Regions from separate parts of the Homo sapiens genome. Here region 1 is linked to region 2. The links are contacts of gene promoters, found by promoter capture Hi-C in human tissues and cell types (Jung and others, 2019). All regions are on one chromosome and are shown on one strand. The core of a region is centred on a gene start or on the middle of the fragment in contact, and the rest is flanking DNA. Distances in the headings are between cores, read along the strand shown.

What was found. The method cuts DNA at HindIII sites, captures the fragments that hold promoters and counts their contacts. A contact is called where the count stands out against the background at its distance.
Region 1: the fragment with the promoter of BRF1 here is called in contact with the fragment with the promoter of INF2 in region 2 in 2 of the 25 tissues and cell types used here (IMR-90 fibroblasts and dorsolateral prefrontal cortex).

Annotation. Positions count from the first base shown.
Region 1 is chr14:105,299,136-105,305,040 of GRCh38, reverse strand. It overlaps BRF1 (BRF1 general transcription factor IIIB subunit), which reads left to right and starts at 4,040. Exons shown (of 18, transcript NM_001519.4): 1 at 4,040-4,595. The coding sequence starts at 4,412. It also overlaps the pseudogene LOC124903409 and a transcript of PACS2 not described here. RefSeq lists silencers at 3,359-3,728, 3,959-4,368 and an enhancer at 5,219-5,298. The HindIII fragment of the contact is 16,575 bases long and covers 1-5,905 here.
Region 2 is chr14:104,688,262-104,694,699 of GRCh38, reverse strand. INF2 (inverted formin 2) reads right to left here and starts at 5,082. Exons shown (of 23, transcript NM_022489.4): 1 at 4,961-5,082. RefSeq lists enhancers at 169-1,156, 5,111-6,100, 6,101-6,438 and silencers at 4,569-4,618, 4,709-4,948, 4,969-5,058, 5,159-5,418. The HindIII fragment of the contact is 30,363 bases long and covers 1-6,438 here.

The DNA of each region.
Region 1 (5,905 bases), core at 2,791-5,290, 610 kb before region 2:
TCTAAAACCATCGCCTTGGGGCAAGGACGTCAACATATGGACTTTGGGGGAACACACATGATATGATTTGGCTCTGTGTACCCACCCAGATCTCATCTTGAATTCCCACATATTGTGGAGGGACCTGGTGGGAGGGAATTGAATCATGGGGGCAGGTCTTTCCCGTGCTGTTCTTGTGATTGCGAATAAGTCTCACGAGATCTGACGGTTTTATAAGAGGGAGTTTCCCTGCAGAAGCTCTCTCTCTCCCTGCTGCCATCCACGTAAGACGTGACTTGCTCCTCCTTGCCTTCCTCCATGATTGTGAGGCCTCTGCAGCCACGTGGAACTACAGGTCCAATAAACCTCTTTTGTTTGTTAATCGCCCAGTCTCACGTATGTCTTTATCAGCAGTGTGAAAACAGACTGATACAATGCACATTCAGACCATAGCACCCCTCCTCTGCAGCCCATCTGAGCAAAGGCTTAGTTCTGGCAGCACGCACCTTGGGCCATTGCCCAGTAGAGCCTCACCCTTTTTTATATTTTATTTTATTTTATTTTATTTATTGTGAGATGGAGTTTCACTCTTGTCGTCCAGGCTGAAGTGCAATGACGCCATCTCGCCTCACCACAACTCCCGCCTCCCAGGTTCAAGCAATTCTCCTGCCTCAGCCTCCCGAGTAGCTGGAACTACAGGCGCCCACCATCACACCTGCTAATTTTTGTATTTTTTGGAAAGATGGGTTTCACCATGTTGGCCAGGACGGTCTTGATCTCTTGACCTCGTGATCTGCCCTCCTCAGCCTCCCAAAGTGCTGGGATTACAGTCCTGAGCCACCGAGCCTGGCTGAAACCACACCCTTTAAACCTCTTACCGTTGTGGGTGTGGTCTTCCCCACCCTCTGCTCCTCTGGCCAATCCTGTCCTGTACAGCCTGACTGTCCTGTACTGCCTGACTGTCCTGCACCGCTGTGGCCTGGGAGGCATGCTGCCCCTTGCACCTGCAGGCACCTCACAGGCTTTGGTGAGGGAGCACACGAAATAACCCCTCTAGTCTGTCAGGTGAGAGCAAGGATCCAGTGGCCACATGGCCTCAGATTGGATTCTGGCTTTGTTACCTACTGGCTATGAGATTTGGGGCTGTCACCCCTCACATCCTCAAGGGCTCCCTCCATAAAATGGAGACAACAGTGTCTGCAAGCTAGTGTTGCCATAAGGATGAAATGTCATCATGGACAGAGAGCATTTTGCATAGAGATCAATAATACATATTTGAAAAATCCCCAACATTTAGAAACAAAACAATACACTTCCTAATAACCCTTGGATCCGGGAGGAAATTAAGAGTGGAGACAATCTTGAGCTGAATGAAAATGAAAACACAGCACATTGAAATGTGCAGGATTCAGCTAAAGTGGTAATTACAGGGAGAATTATAGCAATAAAATGCCTATTTATAAAGGAAAAGAGATCTTAAATCAATGATTTCATCTTTCACCTTAAAAAACTAGGAAAAGGCCAGGCGCGATGGCTCACGCCCATAGTCCCAGCACTTTGGGAGGGCGAGACAGGTGGATCACGAGGTCAGGAGATCAAGACCATCCTGGCTAACACAGTGAAACCCTGTCTCTACTAAAAATACAAAAAATTAGCCAGGCATGGTGGTGGGCACCTGTAGTCCCAGCTACTTGGGAGGCTGAGGCAGGAGAATGGCATGAACCCGGGAGGTGGAGGTTACAGTGAGCCAAGATCGCACCACTGCATTCCAGCCTGGGTGACAGAGCGAGACTCCACCTCAAAAAACAAAACAAAACAAAAACTAGAAAAAGGGGCCGGGTGCATTGGCTCACGTGTAGAATCTCAACACTTTGGGAGACCAAGACAGGTGGATCACTTGAGGTCAGGAGTTTGGGACCAGCCTAGCCAACATGGTGAAACCCCATCTCTACTAAAAATACAAAAATTAGCTGGGCGTGGTGGCACATGCCTGTAATTCCAGCTACTTGGGAGGCTGAAGTGACAGAATCACTTGAACCTGGGAGGTGGAAGTTGCAGTGAGCTGAGATGGCACCACTGAACTCCAGCCTGGGTGTTCTCTATCTCAAAAAAAAAAAAGAACTAGAGAAAGGGCGGGGAGCAGTGGCTCATGCCTGTAATCCCAGCACTTTGGGAGGACAGGGCGGGGAGCAGTGGCTCATGCCTGTAATCCCAGCACTTTGGGAAGACAAGGCGGGTGGCTCACTTGAGCCCAGGAGTTCCAGACCAGCCTGGGCAAATGAGGCAAAAACCCATCTCTACAAAAAATATTATCTGGGTGTGGTGGCACATGCCTGTAGTTCCAGCTACTCGGGAGGCTGAGGTGGGAGGATCACCTGAGCCCAGGAGGTAGAGTCTGCAGTGAGGCTTGATTATGCTACTGCACTCCACCTTGGGTGACAGAATGAGACACTATCTCAATTTTTAAAAAATGAAGAAACTAGAAAAAGGGAACACATTGAACCAAATTAAGTGGAAAGAAGGATCTAACAAAAATGAGAGCAGAAATTAATGAAATAGGGCCATGCACGGTGGCTCATGCCTGTAATCCCAGCACTTTGGGAGGCTGAAGTGGGCGGATCACCTGAGGTCGGGAGTTCAAGACTGGCCTGACCAACATGGAGAAACCCCGTCTCTACTAAAAATACAAAATTAGCCAGGTGTGGTGGTGCATACCTGTAATCCCAGCTACTCGGGAGGCTGAGAGAGGAGAATCGCTTAAACCCAGGAGGCAGAGGTTGCAGTGAGCCGATATCTCACCACTGCACTCCAGCCTGGGCAACAGAGCAGAGACTCCGTCTCAAAAAAAAAAAAAAAAGAAAGAAAAAAAAGAGGGTGGGGTCTTCCGCATTTCCTTTTTTCTCTTTTTTTTTTTTGAGACAGAGTTTCACTCTTGTCACCCGTCACCCAGGCTGGAGTGCAATGGCGGGATCTCAGCTCACTGCAACCTCCACCTCTCAGGTTCAAGTGGTTCTCCTGTCTCAGACTCGCGAGTAGCTGGGATTACAGGCGCCCACCACCAAGCCTGGCTAATTTTTTTGTATTTTTAGTGGAGACGGGGTTTCGCCATGTTGGCCAGGCTGGTCTCGAACTCCTCACCTTACGTGATCCGCCTGCCTTGGCCTCCCAAAGTGCTGGGATTACAAGCGTGAGCCACTACGCCTGGTTACGCATTTCTTTTTAGGCTCATTCCTGGGTATGTCACCGGCCCTATGGCGATTGTGAACAGCACCTGCAGATATTTGAGGGCGTGCGCAGCCAGGGTTCCCGCTCTGGGCAGGGGGCACAGCGAGGTGACTCACGGGTAACCACAGGTGGCCACGAATGACTGCTAGAAAGTGGGAATTTTAGGGGAACAGAAAACGGAGAATAGCGGGGCGCACGGGGAGGCTCTGGAACCTGGGCGAGCGGAGCGGCGGACGCCGCAAATGCGGAGGGCGGGGCAGGGTGGCCCCTGGCGGGTGTCTCCACCTCTGCGGCCAGGCCCCCCAGCGCAGCTGCCCTGGCCCCGCCCACCACTCCCAGAGCCCGGGGTTGGGTCCCAGGTCGCCCTCAGGAGCCAAGGCCCCGCCCACCACGCTCGGCCCCCTCGCCTCAAGCCCCGCCCACAGTTCGGGTCCAGACCCAGGCTCCGCCCCCTTCCCCCGCCCACAGCTCCAGTTCCCTTCGCAGGCCGTCTCTCCACGGGAGGCCCCGCCCCCCACCCTCAGCCCCGCATCCGGCTGAGTCCTCACCCCAGGCCTCGCTCGCCGCTGGAGACCGCGCTCACTATCCGAGGAGGACCCTCCTCTGCCCCGCGTCCAGCTTTAGTCCCCGACTGCGTTCATCGCCAAGGGCCCGCCCACTGCCTTAGGTCGCGTCGCCAGCCTTGGGTCCCGTCGCCAGCCTTGGGTCCCGTCCCCGGCTGCACTCACCGCGAGGCCCCACCCTTAGCTCTAGTCCCCGGTGTCGCCCACCGACGAGGCCCCGCCCCAAACTCCAGTCCCGGGCTGCGCTCACCGCCGTGGCCCCGCCCCCAAGCGCCAGTCCTCGGCTGCGCTCACCGGTAGGCCCCGCTCGGGTTCCGCCGAAGCCCAGCCCCCGCAGGTCGCCCCTCCGACGCCGGCGCGCCGCAAGGGAGGCCAGCTCGCTCGCAGTGGGGAGGTCGCGGCTCCAGTCCTCGCGTCCCCGCCGTGGTCCCGGTGCCTGTCCCATCCCGCGGGCGCGGCCGTTGCGGGCGGCGCGGCCCGGGCGCGCGCGGCGAATCTGCGGCTGCGAATCGGCTGGAGCGGGGCCTCGCGAGAGCGGCGAGGCCTGGGCGGCTGGGCCTGGGCGGGCGGCGCGGGCTGCTCCGGAGGCTCGGGTGGCTTGAGAGTCTTGGGAGGCTCCGGGCGCTGCCCGCGCGGTCGCCGGCATGACGGGCCGCGTGTGCCGCGGTTGCGGCGGCACGGACATCGAGCTGGACGCGGCGCGCGGGGACGCGGTGTGCACCGCCTGCGGCTCAGTGCTGGAGGACAACATCATCGTGTCCGAGGTGCAGTTCGTGGAGAGCAGCGGCGGCGGCTCCTCGGCCGTGGGCCAGTTCGTGTCCCTGGACGGTGAGTCCCGCGGGCTGGCGCTGCGCGGATTTCTCGGTGCGGCTTAGGCGGGCTGGAGGCGGTGACGGCGCGGCCGGGACCAGCGCCTCGGTACCGCACGCTCTGTCGGGGCGCGCGGTTCTGCGCCGTCTGGGCGCGAGTGTGGATCCCCTTGGCGAGAATGTAGACCTTCTTCGCGCGCCTGTGGACCCCCGTGGCGTGCGTGGACTTCCTCGACACACGCGTGGGCCAGGGCAGCCAGCACAGGGAGGGTTGAAGAGAGCCTGGGGAGCCCAGAAGGCCCCTCAAGCTGCCCCTCACTGTCACTCTCTGTGCCTGCAGTTTTGTTTTCAGCAATGTCTGGTACTTAGAATCCGATTGCTGCTGCCCTTGGCCTTGGTGGTTACCGGGCGGATGCCCTAGGGCCACTCAGGCTGCTGCAGGCCTCGGAGGGGACGTTTCAGTGATGGGCAGTATTGCGGGCTGGGGATGGACCCCAGCCTGTGGAAGGAGCTGGACTGTGGCCAGTTTCAGGTGGTTGTGAATAGAGCTGCTAAAAGGATTCATTTGCAGCTCTCTGTGTGAACATACGTTTTCATTTCTCTGGGGAACTTAGCTGTATGTGTAACTCTATGGGAAACTGTCATGAACTGTTTTGTGATGTGGCTGTGCCATTATGCATTCTCACCAGTTGCCCCACATCTTCACCAGCACTTGGTGTTGTCGATGTTTTTATTTCGGTTGTTCTAACAGGTGTGTGGCATCTCATCATAGTGGTATTCTGTATTTCTCTACTGGCTAGTGATGTTCAACCTTATTAGGGTGCTTATTTGCCATGCCCGAATCCTCTTTGTTGAAATGTGTGCTCAAGTCTTATTTTTTTATTTATCTCGAGACAGGATCTCACTCTGTGGCCCAGGCTGGTGTGCAATGGCCCAGTCATGGCTCTCTGCAGCCTTGAACTCCTAGGCTCAGGCAATTCTCCTGCCTCAACCTCCTGAGTAGCTGAGACTACAGGTGCATGCCACCATGCTGTGATCATTTATTTTATTTTATTTTTAGTAGAGACAAGGTCTCTATGTTGCCCAGGCTGGTCTCAAACTCCTGGGCTCAAGTGATACTCCAGCCTTGGCCTCCCGAATTGCTGGGATTACAGCGTGAGCCACCACACCCTGACTCTCATTTTTTATTTGGGTTGTTTTCTTATTGTTGAGTTTTGGGAGTTCTTTGTGGATTGTAGTTACAAGCCCTTTGTTGTATATGTGATTTTCAAAGCAGAAGTTTTTTTTCTTTTGAGATGGAGTCTTGCTCTGTTGCCCAGGCTGGAGTGC
Region 2 (6,438 bases), core at 3,833-6,332:
TGCTACCAGGGCCCAGGGTGGGGGACGGCTCTGATTCAGGGTGAGACTGGGCTCTTCCGCTGACCGGCCTGTGACCCATAGGATCTCCTGGTTCCTGTCCTCAAATGCGGATGAGTGTGTCAATGCCACCCCCACAGCTTACTGACAGATTGACGAGATGCCACCTGTAATGCCAGTGCATAACCACGCACTGACCGCCCGCCTTCCCACTCAGCCCACCTCCTGTTTGGCGGCTGGGACGGAGCTAGGACGTTGCATGAATCTTCCCAGCCCCTGCTCAGCGTCTCTTGACCTCTGCTCCAGGCAGCCAGTGCCAGGGAGCCCGTCAGGCCCAACTGGGCAAACAAGATCCTCAGCGTGGGTGCAACATGCCGCTTGGCAATGCTTGCTGGGACACGAGGGTGCCAGGGGCCTGGGACAGCCAGGCCCATTCTGGACTCAGTTTTCTCATCTGTAAAATGGCCAGGATGTTCTCCAGGGCCCCGTAGCTCTGACCTGGGTTGGCTGTGCCAGCACCGCCCGTGTGGCCCCTCCTGGGTCCGGCCCATGGCTCTGCCAGCTCCTGCAGGCAGCCCCTCACTGTTGGGCCTGCACCTCCACAGCCTGGCCTGGCCCAGGGAAGGGGCAGCCGGGGGGGCCCTCTGCACATGGAAGCATAGGCAGGGGCCCTGGGTGTCCCCAAGGGGCTCCCGTTCTCAGGCCACTCATGTCTGTGCACAAGGTGGAAGCAGAGGCAGGTGGGGACAGGTGGCTACTCCCTCACCCCCACCCTGTGTCCTCCTCCCAGCGTAGGCTGGGTGCAGGCGACAGTCTGAGCTGTGCCTGGAGCAGGAACAGGGACCCGGGGGCACAGAGGGTGGGGCAGGCAGGCTGTACACCGAGGCCATGTCCCAGGGCCTGCAAGGACCCAGGTACAGATGGGGAGATGGAGGCCAGTGGGATGCTGGCCCTCCTCGCACAGCTGGCCACGTCCACCCCCGACCCGGCGAGGGCCAGGACAGCTCAGGCACGAACAAACCCCTGCACCACTGGCCATGCCCACTGGGACTCCATGCGTGTTGGGCAGCTGGCCACTCGCTGGGCAGAGCGAGGGGCTGGGGCTGGCCTCTGCCCACAGCAGCTGAATGGGGGCTTGGAGATGATACAGAAAAGCCACTACCCGGGGCTGGTGTGCTCAGCGGCCACTGCTTCCCTCTCCCTCCCTCCTCAACTGTGCCCTGGGTTAGCCTCAAAGCTAGGCTTTGACACTAGCCCTCGTCTGCAAAATGGGAAGCAGACAGCCTGCCCTCCGCCCCCAGTGTGGCTCCTGGTTGAGTTCTGGCCCACCAAGGGCTGCCTGGGGGCCTCTGCCTTCACTGTGAGGTGGGCCCGGGGCAGAGCCCTGTAACAGTAGGACAGCCCTCCAATCCACCCCACTCCCTCTCCCCCACCCCACCTCTCCCACTTTGGACCTTGGGGTGCTCAGACTGTGTCCAGGTCACAGGAAGCAGGTGGGGTGGTATAACGCTGTCACAGCACGGGAGCACAGGGTCCCTGCCCAGGGCACCAGGGCCAGGGGCCTTGGCAGCATCTTCCCATGTCCCTCTGACCCTGCAAAGGCCTTGATCGGCGGCCAGGAGCCTGGCCAGGCCTCCAGTGGTGCCCATCTGCTCCTTCTGGGTCTCCATGCCATTTCCAACAGACAGAGGTTGGGGCTGAGGGAGATGGAGGGTGCCCCAGCCACGGCCAGTCACCCTTCTGGGGTGAGAACAGGAGTGAACTGAGGGCACAGAGGCTCGGGGCAGCCCAGGCTGGCCCTTCTCTCAGGACTCTCCTGGTACCTCTCTCTCCCTCCCTGCTGCCTCTGGGAAAAGCTGCAGGCGAAAGAGGAAAGCAGCCTTGGCCCTTGCCCTTGGCCATTGGCGTGGCAAGGTCCTCAGGGCCTTCACGCTAGTCATCCCATCTGGGCTGTGACCACACTGGTCATTCCACCCAGGCTGTGACCCAGGCCGACTGGCTGGGAGGGCTCCGGGGTCCAGGCTGGCCCTTGGGCAGTTGTCTGTCTGCATGGGCTGCTCTGGAGTGACACAGGTGGTTGCCTGGAGGGCGGGCCTATTCCTGCCCCACCAACCCCCGAGTTTGGAGGCCCGGTAATGGCTACTTGACCAGGACAGGCCTGTCCTATTCCCAGAGTGGCAGTGCCAGCACCCTGAGCCTACCCCAGTGGTAGCAACAAGGGCTGGGGGGCCTCGGCCTCCAGCTACTCTGTGGGGCCAGCCCATTTGCACCCTGACCCCCAGTAAGTGCCCTGCACCTGCCTGGCACCGTGCTGAGCGGGGCTGGGCTCCAGGCTCTGGGCACAAGGGCAGATGCACACAGTAGGGGCTTTATCAGCACCTCCTGGCAGAATGGATGGCACTGAGTGTAAAATGGCACCGACTGTCCCGCGCCTCACCTGTGAAATGAACGCTCCTGCAGGACCCACGTCGCACTGGGAGGGATGAGGGTGGGAGACCGTGCGGAGGGACCCCGCAGGCTGGCTCATTCCTTTCCTCCTCACCCACTCACCCAGCACACAGACCCTGCCCAGGCTGGCGTGAATGGTGAGTGGACAGACCCGGCCTGAGGCTGGCCCTCGGGGACTGACATGAGCCCTCAGAGGGGCGACCCTAAGCAACCCCTGTGGTTCCTTATTTAATTACAGCTTAGAAAGGGCTGTGAGAGAGGACGGCCCCTCAGGAGAGGACAGGCACCACCGGTCTGCCCTGCTCTCCTGGCCTGGTGGTTGCCAGGGTATACCGGCACTGGGCTGGGGGGCAGCTGTGTGAGCAGACCTCACCCCAGCTCAGGACCCAGGCTGTCTGGGTGCTCAGAGGCAGACCAGGCAGGACTCTCCCTCCTAGGGTGAGGCTGGCAGGAGTGGAAGCCTCTCTAACAGGGGGCCAGGTGGTTGGACCCTGCTCACCCCTCCAGCGACGGGGAGCCCGTGCCCCTGCCCTCTCTCCTTCCCACCGTTGGTAGAACTTAGTCTTTGACTTTAGGTGTCCACTAGGCCTGGGTCTGCTGTGGCCCCTGGGGACCACCCTCCAGAGACTGGCTCCTATGTGGCCTCCACCTCCCGGCCTTCCCGTCCACCATCCTGAAAACAGAGGTGGGTGTGCCTTCTCCAATGTAATGTGTCCACTGGGCCATGAACCACACACCTATCAGACACCTGCTGTTTGCAAGATGGAGGTAGGGGAGGGGCTGGCAGCAGGGAGTCAGGTCTCATTCCTGACTACAGGGAAATTTGACCTCCAGGCACCAGCAAAAAGCCAGGGGCTTGAGCTTACTTCACTGTCCCCGTCCAGAGCTGGGCCAGCTGCGTCCTGCCCCACACCCACAGGCAGCACCGCATCACTTTCCAGTCACCACCCACCCCTCCCGCAGCCTGCATGAACCGCATAACTTTTCCAACCCAGGAAGTAACTGCACTTTGATGGAAGGCGCAGAGTCTATTTCAGGTAGGAGCTTCCACGTCCCCACATGTGCGGTGTGTGTCATTCGCTTGACAGCCGTCAGCTCCTCCACAAAGTGGGCGCTCACCTGAAGGTTAACTCAGGAGCCCTGGCTGTGGAGGCTACAGTCGCACCTGGCCACTTGGTCCGTCCCCACTAGCGACATCCCCTTTGCCGGGCTGCAGGGCCCATGACAGTCCAGGGATGGGAGGGCAGGGCCTGGGCAGGGCCCACTGCACCAACCTGGCTTTTAGAACAGAAAATTGCTGCTGCCCTGGTAGGGGTGGGAGCAGTGTGAGGTCTCAGACCCCAGGCCTGGAACCCAATGCTACTATTTGCTGCACTGGGGGCTGAGCACCGACACCCCAAAAGCCCCTGGCTGGGTGGCACCCTCGGGGTCTGAGGCACTGCTCTGGGACCCCACCTTCCCAGTGCAGGGCGGCAGGGAGCAGGTCCCAGCCTGAGCTGCTGTCCCACCCTTCAGAGTGCAGATGTGGAAACTGAGGCCGGAAGAGGGCGAGTATCCTGCTCCATTCCAGTGCCAGACGGAGGGGCAGGGCTGGCAGTAAGGGAATTTCCTACGTCCAGCGCCTTCTGGGTGTGCCTGACCTCTGGCCCGGTTCCTGGGTTCCTGGTTCCCTGCCTGGGCAGGGTCTCTGCCTCTCTGCCTCCTGGTGTGTCCAGCTGGAGTGGGCAGTAATGCTGTGGTCACAGCTGAGCTGCGGGAGCCCTGGGTGGGGAGCTTGAGCCCCAGAAGGCCCAGACAGACAGACCACCCCCCACGCCTGTGCTCCCCAGGGGGCATTGGGGACGGTCAGGGACACAGCTGGTCACCCCGCCTTCCCCTCCTTAGTCATGGTCACTCCTGGGGCGACTCCCCAGTTAGAGGGTTGACGGGTGGGTCTGGGGGCGTACAGGGATTGGATCCTACCCCACCCAAAAGGAACAGAGAGCTGTGATGGAGGCTGATTCCCCTAAGCCTGCCAGCGGTTGCGGGGTGGGAAGGGCTCCCTGTGCGCCCACCTGCGCGTGGGCAGCTGGAAGCCAAGCAGTCAGGGTGGGGCCGCAGGCCGGCGCGCACCTCGGGGTGCCACCCGGGCGGCGGACCCGAAGTTGAAGTTTATTTTCCCAACTGTGGCTGATTCATGGTCAGGATGTGGCAGCCGCGAGGCGCGGAAATCCCGCCTGCCCTGGGAGTAGGCCCGGCCGACCCTGGGCCCACCACTCTGCGGCCAGTGCGCGCTCGGGCGGTGCCTCGGCGCGGAGGACCATAGTCCCGAGCGGGGCGCGCGGAGCCGGGGGGGCCAGGGGCGCCCTGGGGTCCCCGCCCGGGAACTGTACCCTGCGCCGCCGGACCGCCCGCCGCCACCTGGGCACACACGCCGCAGCCCGGAACCTCGCTCCTGGACCCAAGCACGCCCCTGCCTCCTCCCGGACTCAGTTTCCCCTGAAGCTCCAAGCGGACCCCGAGGCCAAGGACTTACCCGGTGAGGCAACGGCCAGAGGGCGGTGGTGCGGCCGGCGCTCCGTCCGGGGCCGGGTCAGGGGCTGCGGGCAGCCGGCGCCCACTGCCGCGCTCCGCAAGGCTCGGACGGTGGCTCCTGGCGGGCGCGGGGCGGGCGGGGCGGGCGGGAGGAAGAGGAGGTGCCGCCCCGCCCGTCAGCGGCCACGTGGGGAGCGAGCGCGGGCCGGGGGCGGGGCCTGGGGGGGGAGGTGGGTGGCTGGGGGTGGCCCCGCCCACTGTGGCCGGTCCCTGAGGGCGCTTTAAGGGGTCTCCCCACTCCCGTGAATAACCTGGCCGCCCCCTCGCGGTCCCTGCTGGCCTGGCTCCTGGTGGGCGGAGATGGGGGTGGGACGCGCAGATCGGGGCCGTCTCCCGCCTCAGCCCCCACTGTCCGCCCCGTCCCTGCCCTCCACCGCCTCCCGTCCACCTACACCCCTATCCTCCGGTGGGACTGGCCTCCCAGGCGCCGCTCACCTCTCTCTGCCCCGGCCCGGGACTCCCGTTCCAGCCAGCCGGATCCGGAGTCCCCGCGTTCGGGGATCCCTCAGCAGAGATGGCTCTTCCCAGGCTTTGGGGAGAGAGAGCCTACCCATCAACCAGGCCACCCATGTGGCCTCCTCTCCGCAGCCCTGCCTGACCCCCTTCCACCCTTGATGGGGTCTCGGCGGTCTTGGGCAGCCGCACTTCGCCGGTTGGTGGAGACAGCTGCATGAGGGCCGCGGAGGTGTCGCAATGGGGTGGGTTTTCTCTGCCACCCCTCTGCTGTCCGGCCTCATCTGTCTCCTAGATTGAGGGGGGCACCCATCCCCCCACCGCCGACATTGACCAGCATGGGGCGTGCCCATAGTCGGCTCTGAAAGCCAGCCTGGTTGGATGAGAGCCAGACCCCAGCTCTGGAAGTCCCTTCTGACGTCTGACCCTCAGTCAGAGCTGCAGGAAGCAGCGCACCAGGCCTGGGGTTTGGGGGCCACTGGCAGCTAGAGGGAGGGCAGAGGAAGGCAGGCCTGGGGGAGCCCCCGTGTGACATGTGACAGAGCAGACACAACCCCTGCCCTGAGAACCGGCGCCAGCACTCCCTGTGCGGCCTCAGGCTCGGATATGACTCTGTGGAGCCTCAGTTTCCCCATCTGTAAAATAGAATAAGTACCCGTAAGGGCTGTATGAGGGTCAAGAACATGCGGATAAAGTGTCTCCACTCGGAGTCCTGACATCTCTCTCCGGAGGGCCTGCTGTGTGGGCCGTGGCGGCCAGGGCTCAGGGTGAGGGCGAGGGGAGAGAAAAGGGCTCCTGAATGGCTTCCCAGCCCCGATGCAGCTTCTGCTTTGAGGCCAGCTGCGTGTCCTTTGGCTTTGGTGTGCCTCCGCTCCGGTGGGGATAAGCGCCGAATTGCAGGCTGCGTCTGTCTGCTCCCTGTGCGGACCTTGCCCTGCCCAGCAGCCCCAGCCCCGGAAGTTTGCT